2 separate regions of the Homo sapiens genome follow, and region 1 is linked to region 2. The links are contacts of gene promoters, found by promoter capture Hi-C in human tissues and cell types (Jung and others, 2019). All regions are on one chromosome and are shown on one strand. The core of a region is centred on a gene start or on the middle of the fragment in contact, and the rest is flanking DNA. Distances in the headings are between cores, read along the strand shown. Region 1 has its middle 36 kb from the start of LINC01907. Region 2 holds the start of PSMD1 (proteasome 26S subunit, non-ATPase 1).

Region 1 (3,761 bases), core at 530-3,029, 390 kb after region 2:
CAGTACTCACAGTATCCAGGAGGTGACCAGAGACCTGGGGGTGGGAGACAGGTGGGGCACCTGGGCTGGTACCAGGTGGCCAGCCTTGGCAGAGATCTCCCAAACTGTCGGGGACATTAGGAAACCACACCAGTGAGCTTGGGCAGCAAAGAAGCTGGGGCGACTTTGATGTACAAAAGATTAGGAGCCCTTCTGTGTGTTCAAGGCATCAGAGCCTCCTGGGTTCCGGTGGGTGAAAGGGGAGGTCCCAGTGGAGATGGAAAAGGAAATCTAGGTCAACCTTTCCAAATGACGTTGGCCTTGGAATGCGGTTGATTCAAGGGCAATAAAGAAAGTGTGTTAGGGCTGGGCGTGGTTGCTCACACCTGTAATTCCAGCACTTTGGGAGGCCGAGGTGGGTGGATCACTTGAGGTCAGGAGTTCGAGACCAGCCTGGCCAACATGGTGAAACCCCGTCTCTACCCAAAATGCAAAAATTAGCTGGGCGTAGTGGCGTGTGTCTGTAATCTTAGCTACTGGGCAGGCTGAGGCGGGGGAATTGCTTGAACCCGGGAGTCGGAGGTTGCAGATAGTGCCAAGATAGTGCCACTGCACTCCAGCCTGGGCAACAGAGTGAGACTCCATCTCAAAAAAAAAAAAAGTGTGTTATTTAATCCCCATTATACAAGTAAGGAAACTGAAGCTCGGAGCAGGTAAGGCTCCCAAGCTCACAGTGCTGGAAAGTAGCAGAGCCAAATCTCCCCCAGCCTTGGGTCACTGGAGCGGCTAGTTTCAACAAGGTCACACTGCCGCCGCCCCCACTGCAGTGGGCCGCCATGGGTCTTCTCGGTCAGCACTCACTGCCCGCTGGCTCTGCAAACCTCATTCTCAACCTGCGTTTGAACTGGAAGCTTTCGCTCTGATTCTCTCCCTGTTTCCAGGGTGGGTTTTTTTTTTTTTTTTTTTTTTTGAGATGGAGTCTCATTCTGTCACCCAGGCTGGAGTGCAGTGGTGCAATCTTGGCTCACTGCAACCTCTGCCTCCAGGGTTCAAGCAATTCTCCTTCCTCAGCCTCCCAAGTAGCTGGGATTACAGGCACCCGCTACCATGCAGGCAAATTTTTTTTTGTATTTTTAGTAGAGATGGGGTTTCACCATGTTGGCCAGGCTGGTTTTGAACTCCTGACTTCACGTGATCAGCCCACCTCGGCCTCCCAAAGTGCTAGGATTACAGGCATGAGCCACCGTGCCCGGCCTCCAGGGTGGTTTTAAGAAGGCAAGTCCGTGGGATCTGCCAAGTCATCTCATGCAGAGCGTTCAGGAAGATCATGGTCCCCCTGCCAGTTCCTGCGGTGTTCTTGAGGTCAAATAATATTCTTGTGGTTCGCTCATTCATTCATTCACTCACTCACTCAGCAAGCACTGAGGGAGTACATGAGGGACTGTGGATATGGCAGTGAACTATAGACCTGGTCCCTCCCTCCAGGAGCTTGTAGCACTTTTGTCTGGTGGCAACACGTGGTGTGGAGAAAAGAAAGCTGCTCAGCATGTTAGGGTATGCAGCAGGGTGGAGAGCTGTTGTCATTAACACAGGGAGGTCAGAGGAAGGCTCTGGTAGATGCTAGTGAAAGTCTGAAGGGTAAGGGAGTCAGCCCAGGGCTCCAGGGGGAAGGGCCTCCGAGGCAGAAGGTACCAGAAATGAAAAGGCCCTGAGTCAGGAGCACACTTCCCTGTGGCTGAAGTGATCCTGGGAGTCCACAGGAATCCATGGGAACCTGTGAGCCATCATGGAGATTTGGGAAACACGAGAGGGCTGGTCTGGCTGTGTGATGAGGGTGGTTGGGGCGGCTGGACGTGCAGGAAGGAGAGAGATGTCATGATCTACGTGAGTCGGGACAAAGGATGGACCAGGGTGGTGGCTGTGGAGGCGGGAGGAGCAGTCAGACTCTGGATGTATGTCTAAGGAGGATGAGGGCTTGGATATGGGGAGGAAGAAGGGGAGCCCTAGGTTTTTGGCATTCATCTTCTGGCAGTCTTTCCTTAACTTTCCACCACTAGGGCCAGCCTCTGAGTTCATCCTCACCAGGTTGCTGCGACAGGGAGGGCAGGCTCTGTGTCCTCATGTTTGCCTTTTGCTTTAATCCTCACTCATCTTTACTTGCTTTAGCCCATGGGCTCTGGAATGAGGGGCCCTTGGAGCCCCCCACTTCTGATCCTGAGGTGGGGGGCAGGCAGTAGAAGCTGGAAGGAGAGCCTTCCTTAGCACACAGCCCCACACCCCACTTCCCATCCTTTCTTTTGAAGAGTGGAGGGGGATCCTCTGAAAAGCAGCGATGAGGAGTGCTCCCCCATCCCCACCCCCTCTGCACTGTGCTCCAGCCAAGGCCTGAGAAAGCAGCGCAATGTCAGGGAGACCCAAGGGGTGGTGTGGCAGAGGGTGAGAGAAATGAGACAGCACCTCAGCCTGTGAAAGTGGAGGCTGCGTGGATGCCGGTGCACATAAGTGAGTGGGGAGGGGGAGGGAGAAAATCTTCCCACCACTAGACTGCCCATACCATGCAGACTCAGAGACCTGCAGCCCAGGCTCTGCCCCTCTCAGCTCTGGGCTCTCCTCCCAGTCCTGGGGGTGGCCCTGGGCCAGGGCTGTGATGCACCGCCCACCCTCACTGCACTTGAGCTCAGCTGAGAGCATATGCTGGGCACCTACCCAGTATCTAGTTTCCCCTTCTTCCTTACTAACAGCATCCTGCCTTTGGGGGGTGGCAAGGTGTCCAGCTCAACTACTTCCTTGGATCCTTTGTATGTAGTGGTGGTCATGTTGACCTAGTTCTGCCCAGTGGAATAAGAGCAGGAGTCAGTGGGTGGAAATTTACTTTTTTTTTTGTTTTATTTTTTGAGCTGGAGTTTCACTCTTGTTGCCCAGGCTGGAGTGCAATGGCGCGATCTCAGCTTACTGCAATCTCTGCCTCGTGGATTCAAGTGATTCTCCTGCCTCAGCCTCCCGAGTAGCTGGGATTACAGGCCCCCGCCACCACACCCAGCTAATTTTTTCTCTTTTTAGTAGAGATGGGGTTTTACCACGTTGGTCAGGTTGGTCTCAAACTCCTGACATCAGATGATCCACCCACCTCGGTCTCCCAAAGTCCTGGGATTATAGGCATGAGCCACCATGCCTGACTGGTGGGTGGATATTTAAAAAGAAACAGATTCAACTGGCATGCTCTTTAGCCCTTTCTCTTTGATCTTTGACTTCATCGTTTTCTCCTTCTAACTTTTTGGAAGACAGTTTGGACGCCTGGAGGTGCAGCAGCCATATTCAACCATGAGGGGAAAAGCCAGATGCTAAGTGTGGTGGAGGAGAACAGGAGGAGTCCTGATGTTGGCTGACCCCTAAGCGATGGTACCAGCCCTTGACTGCCAACTCTAAACTTCCTTTTTTGTATGAGACAAAAAAAAAAAAAAAAAAAAAAAAAAAAAAAAAAAATCCCTGTTACTCTAGTTTTTAGTTACATGCAGGTGAACACAGTCCTAATTGATACCCAGGTCATCTCATGCAAAATCTGGTAGCTACTTCTGAAAGCCCAGCACCCACCCCAGCTAGCCTAGGGCAGCCCAGCCCATGGGTGGCTGACCTTGGGCCATGCCTCTACCCTGACCCCACTGCACAGAGGTGATGGCCCGCAGGAGTACAGTGTGTGGGGCACAGGCTCAGAGAGGTTGAGTAACTTGCCCGGCATGGCTCTGCTAATAAAGAGCAGAGTCAAATGTCAGTGTCAGATCTTG
Region 2 (3,717 bases), core at 842-3,341:
AGAGACAGTGATCAGGCAAGTAAACAAACAAGGCAATTACAGAGCTGTGGTGGAGGGAGAGTAAGCGTGTTTTAATAGAATGATCAGGGAAGGATAACATTTGAGTTGAGACAAAAGATTGAGAAGCTAAGGGAAAATCTGAGGAAGAGAAGACTAGAAAGGAACAGAATGTGCCAGGGCCCCGAGATAGGAGAGAAACTGACATATCCAAGGAACAAAAAGTCCAGTGTGATTAGGATGTATTGAGTGAAGACAGTACTACAAGACAAGGCGGGAATCAGATCATGTGGGTCCTTGGTTAAGAGTCTGGATTTTACTGTATGCCAGGGGTGTCCAACCTTTTGGCTCCCCTGGGCCACAATGGAAGAAGTATCTTGGGGCATACATAAAATACACTAACACTAATGATAGCTAATGAGCTTAAAAAAAAAAAAAAAGGTTTGTATATAATTTTCACGATGTCCGACCACCACAGTAAGAAAAAAAGTCCTCGAATTCAAAGGGTTGGACACGGCTGCTCTAAACACAATGTAAGCACTGGTGGATTGTAAGCAAAGAAGTATTATGTGATTAAAGTTTTAAAAAGCATAGTCCACAAGAAAAACGGGCTGTACGGAGGTAATGGTCGAAAACAAAGCCTTAAGGCTGATATAGTAACCCAGACAAGAGATGAAGGTGGTTTGGGCCGAGTTAGAAGAAACATTGGTAATGGATGGATTTGAAATAGAATGAGGCCTATAGGTGGCAAGAAACTGAGTGTTTATTTGATCTTTACAAAGCTCTGACTGGAAAAACTTCCTGATACTGAACTAAAATTCATCTCGCGATCACTTGTATCTCTTGGGGACAAAAAGTCTTATTTCAGGTACAAGTGACAGCTCTTCAAATGTTTGAAAGTAACTACGTCTCCCAGTATCTCCAACGATCTCCTTAACCAATCCTCATAAAAATAAAGTTTTGATCGCCTTACCATTCAGATTACTGTCTTCTGCTCACCAGTTTGTTTACAATAAAATGCTTTCTTTGTGGGTCAAACACAGAGTAAGAAAATGAGAAAAGGGTATGTAAATAGGCAACGGAAAAAAGCACCAAGGCTCTGGACAGCTATATGCAAGTCAATCTGTAACGGGGAGCTTAAGTCTCCAATTGAAACTTGATCTCTGTAACTTACTCCATTGCAAATGTCACTACGTGAATCTACCTATGCAATGGTTTGCGCGTATGAAACCTGCTCCGCAGATCCATCCATTCTTTCTTGAATGTACAGTCAACAGACTGAGCACATAACCTCGAAAGGGTATAAGTAGGCTCTCAGTATAAAGGTATCTCCAGGGCGTCTTTAGGGTCTTCGCCGAACCCAAAAGTTCTCTGGGTGTTTTGAATGAACACCCTTGGATCGGACCCAGAAATGACCCACCTCAAACCTAATTTCGGGTTTCATTCTAAGGCGAATGGAGCTCGGCCACGTCCAGAAACACTTCTGTAGCAGTTAGGCTGCCCGATCAGGGGGGTTTGCCTTACTGTTCAATGGCACAGGGGCCCATCCCACCCCGGCCCCCTGCGGGCAAGAACTGGGGCTGGACGACCTCACACGGCCAAGAATGGGAGGCACAGAAAAAAGGTAAGCCCTTCTGGGGTCAGGGGAAGGCCCAGGAAGCCCCTCGGGTCCTGGCGCTGGGGTGTGATTGGGGAGGGATGCCGAGGCGGTCGACCCGGCTCGATTCCCTCAAGCCAGAGAAGCACGCAGTGACCTGATCAGACTCCCAGCCCCCCGGCCCGGGGGTGGGCCCTGGGCAGCAAGAAGCTGCCCAGGCCGGCGTTCCGCCGGGAGGCGCCCAGTCACCGGCCCTGACTCAGCTAAAAGCCGGCGCGGCGGCGGCTCCTCCCTCCAGGCGCTGGCTACGGGCCGCACTCACCGGCCGAGGTGATCATGGCTGCGCCCCTCACTCGCCCGTCGGCTCGCTCGCCGTTCCAGCTGCGCAGTGTATCTGTCAGCTCAGGGGCCGCTCAGTTCACCGCGCCTCCTTGCTCCCCGGGTGCGCTGCTCAGTCAGTCGCCTCCTCAGGCCGCCGGCTCGCTTCTCGCCAGGACCCCGCCCGCCCAGGGGCTGCCCGCCACCCCGCCTGCCGCCCGGCGCGAATTCTCCCCTGGCCTGCGTCTTCTGCGCGGCGGTATACTCCCCAGCCCTCGCGGAAGGGTACACAGAGAACACCATTGTTTTCTCTAAACCTCCTCGAGGTCAGGAGTCCCGCGCAACGGAACACTGGTCTGCACCTGAGGTCAGGCATTAGAATGGCCAGCCCTGCAAAGAGAGGACCCCCACCATCACCCGCCATTGCTGAGAGAAAGGGTGTTGAGGGGAGGTGCGAGCATTGCGCGCAGTGCCACCTACTGGTGGGAGGTCTCGCTGCAACACATCTCCCACCAGATAATGCTTAGGGAATTGGGGCTGCCGCAAACAGCGTTTTTTTTTGTTTTTTGTTTTTTTTCCCAGAAAAGTGGCTTTCAATTGTTTTCTAAAGCAAAACCTATCATAAAAAAAAGAAAATCCCCATAGAAGTGCTTTATTATCATAATGAATCCACAAGTAATCATTGGCTTATTATAAAGTTGAACAATGAAGGTTTTTACTTACTTTTGGAAAAATGTCCAGTGTTGTCAATATATTAAAATGTGCAGTAGTTATATGGCGAAAGCCTTTCCAAGGGAGAAAAAATGTCTTCCATTCTTTCCTTCTATCTGCCCAGGTCCTCTTTCCCCCGACGGCAGTGGGTTCTTCGTTTCTAATACATCTTCAGAAATTTGAAATGGCAGTTGCAATGGCCATTTGCAGTCTTATGCTAGCTTCAAGAAGTCAATTTATTTCAAGAGTCAGTACTGAGAAAGTCTTGACAAGGAATAGGGCAAACGGTAGCATTTTTTTCAGCCACCGGCCTTGCACTATCAAGCTAAACTCTTCAATCGCACAGCGATGGCGAGTTCATTTCTACGGCCTTCTACGTAACCTAGGGGCACAATCAATGTCTTGTGGTTGCCAGTGAATTAAATGTGCTTGATAACACATTTTGTTGTATCTGTGACTTTTTTTGTTTAAATTAGAATTCTTAAACTGTGGTTGTTTAAAATATATTAAATATAATTATTGAACATTTTTGAAGAGCCTGTGGCTCAGATTGAAAGGCAGGGCTCGAGAAGATGTGCATGCAAAGTAAACAGATTACTTGGGGTGTCATTCTACAGAGGTACTTCTTTTTTTTTTTTTTTGAGATGGAGTGTCCCTCTGCCACCCAGGCTGTAGGGCAATGGCGCGATCTCGGCTCACTGCAACCTCCGCCTCCTGGGTTCAAGCGATTCTCCTGCTCAGTCTCCCAAGTAGCTGGGACTACAGGTGTATGCCACCACACCCGGCTAATTTTTGTATTTTTAGTAGAGACAGGGTTTCACCATGTTAGCTAGGATGGTCTCGATCTCCTGACCTCATGATCCGCCCGCCTCGGCCTCCCAAAATGCTGGGATTAAAGATGTGAGTCACTGCACCTGGCTCTACAGAGGCACTTCTACCAAGCCCTCACATGAAGACAGTTGTATTCCCCAAACCCCTAGAGGAGTCACAAACAAATGCCAACAGGTAATGAAAATGAGTAAAGCAGGACCAGCGAAAGAAAATACAAGCTCCACAGGATGGTGAATGGCAACTAACAGTGTCAAGGAGGCACT

The links. The method cuts DNA at HindIII sites, captures the fragments that hold promoters and counts their contacts. A contact is called where the count stands out against the background at its distance.
Region 1: a fragment that was not itself captured here is called in contact with the fragment with the promoter of PSMD1 in region 2 in 1 of the 25 tissues and cell types used here (bladder).

Annotation. Positions count from the first base shown.
Region 1 is chr2:230,663,109-230,666,869 of GRCh38, reverse strand. No RefSeq gene overlaps it. Among named protein-coding and RNA genes, the nearest start is that of LINC01907, 36 kb to the left of the region's middle. RefSeq lists enhancers at 1-452, 3,140-3,329. The HindIII fragment of the contact is 5,990 bases long and covers 1-3,761 here.
Region 2 is chr2:231,055,241-231,058,957 of GRCh38, reverse strand. It overlaps PSMD1 (proteasome 26S subunit, non-ATPase 1), which reads right to left and starts at 2,091. Exons shown (of 25, transcript NM_002807.4): 1 at 1,917-2,091. The coding sequence starts at 1,932. It overlaps LOC112268432 (a long non-coding RNA gene), which reads left to right and starts at 1,212. Exons shown (of 2, transcript XR_002959456.2): 1 at 1,212-1,621. RefSeq lists a silencer at 2,001-2,190. The HindIII fragment of the contact is 12,128 bases long and covers 1-3,717 here.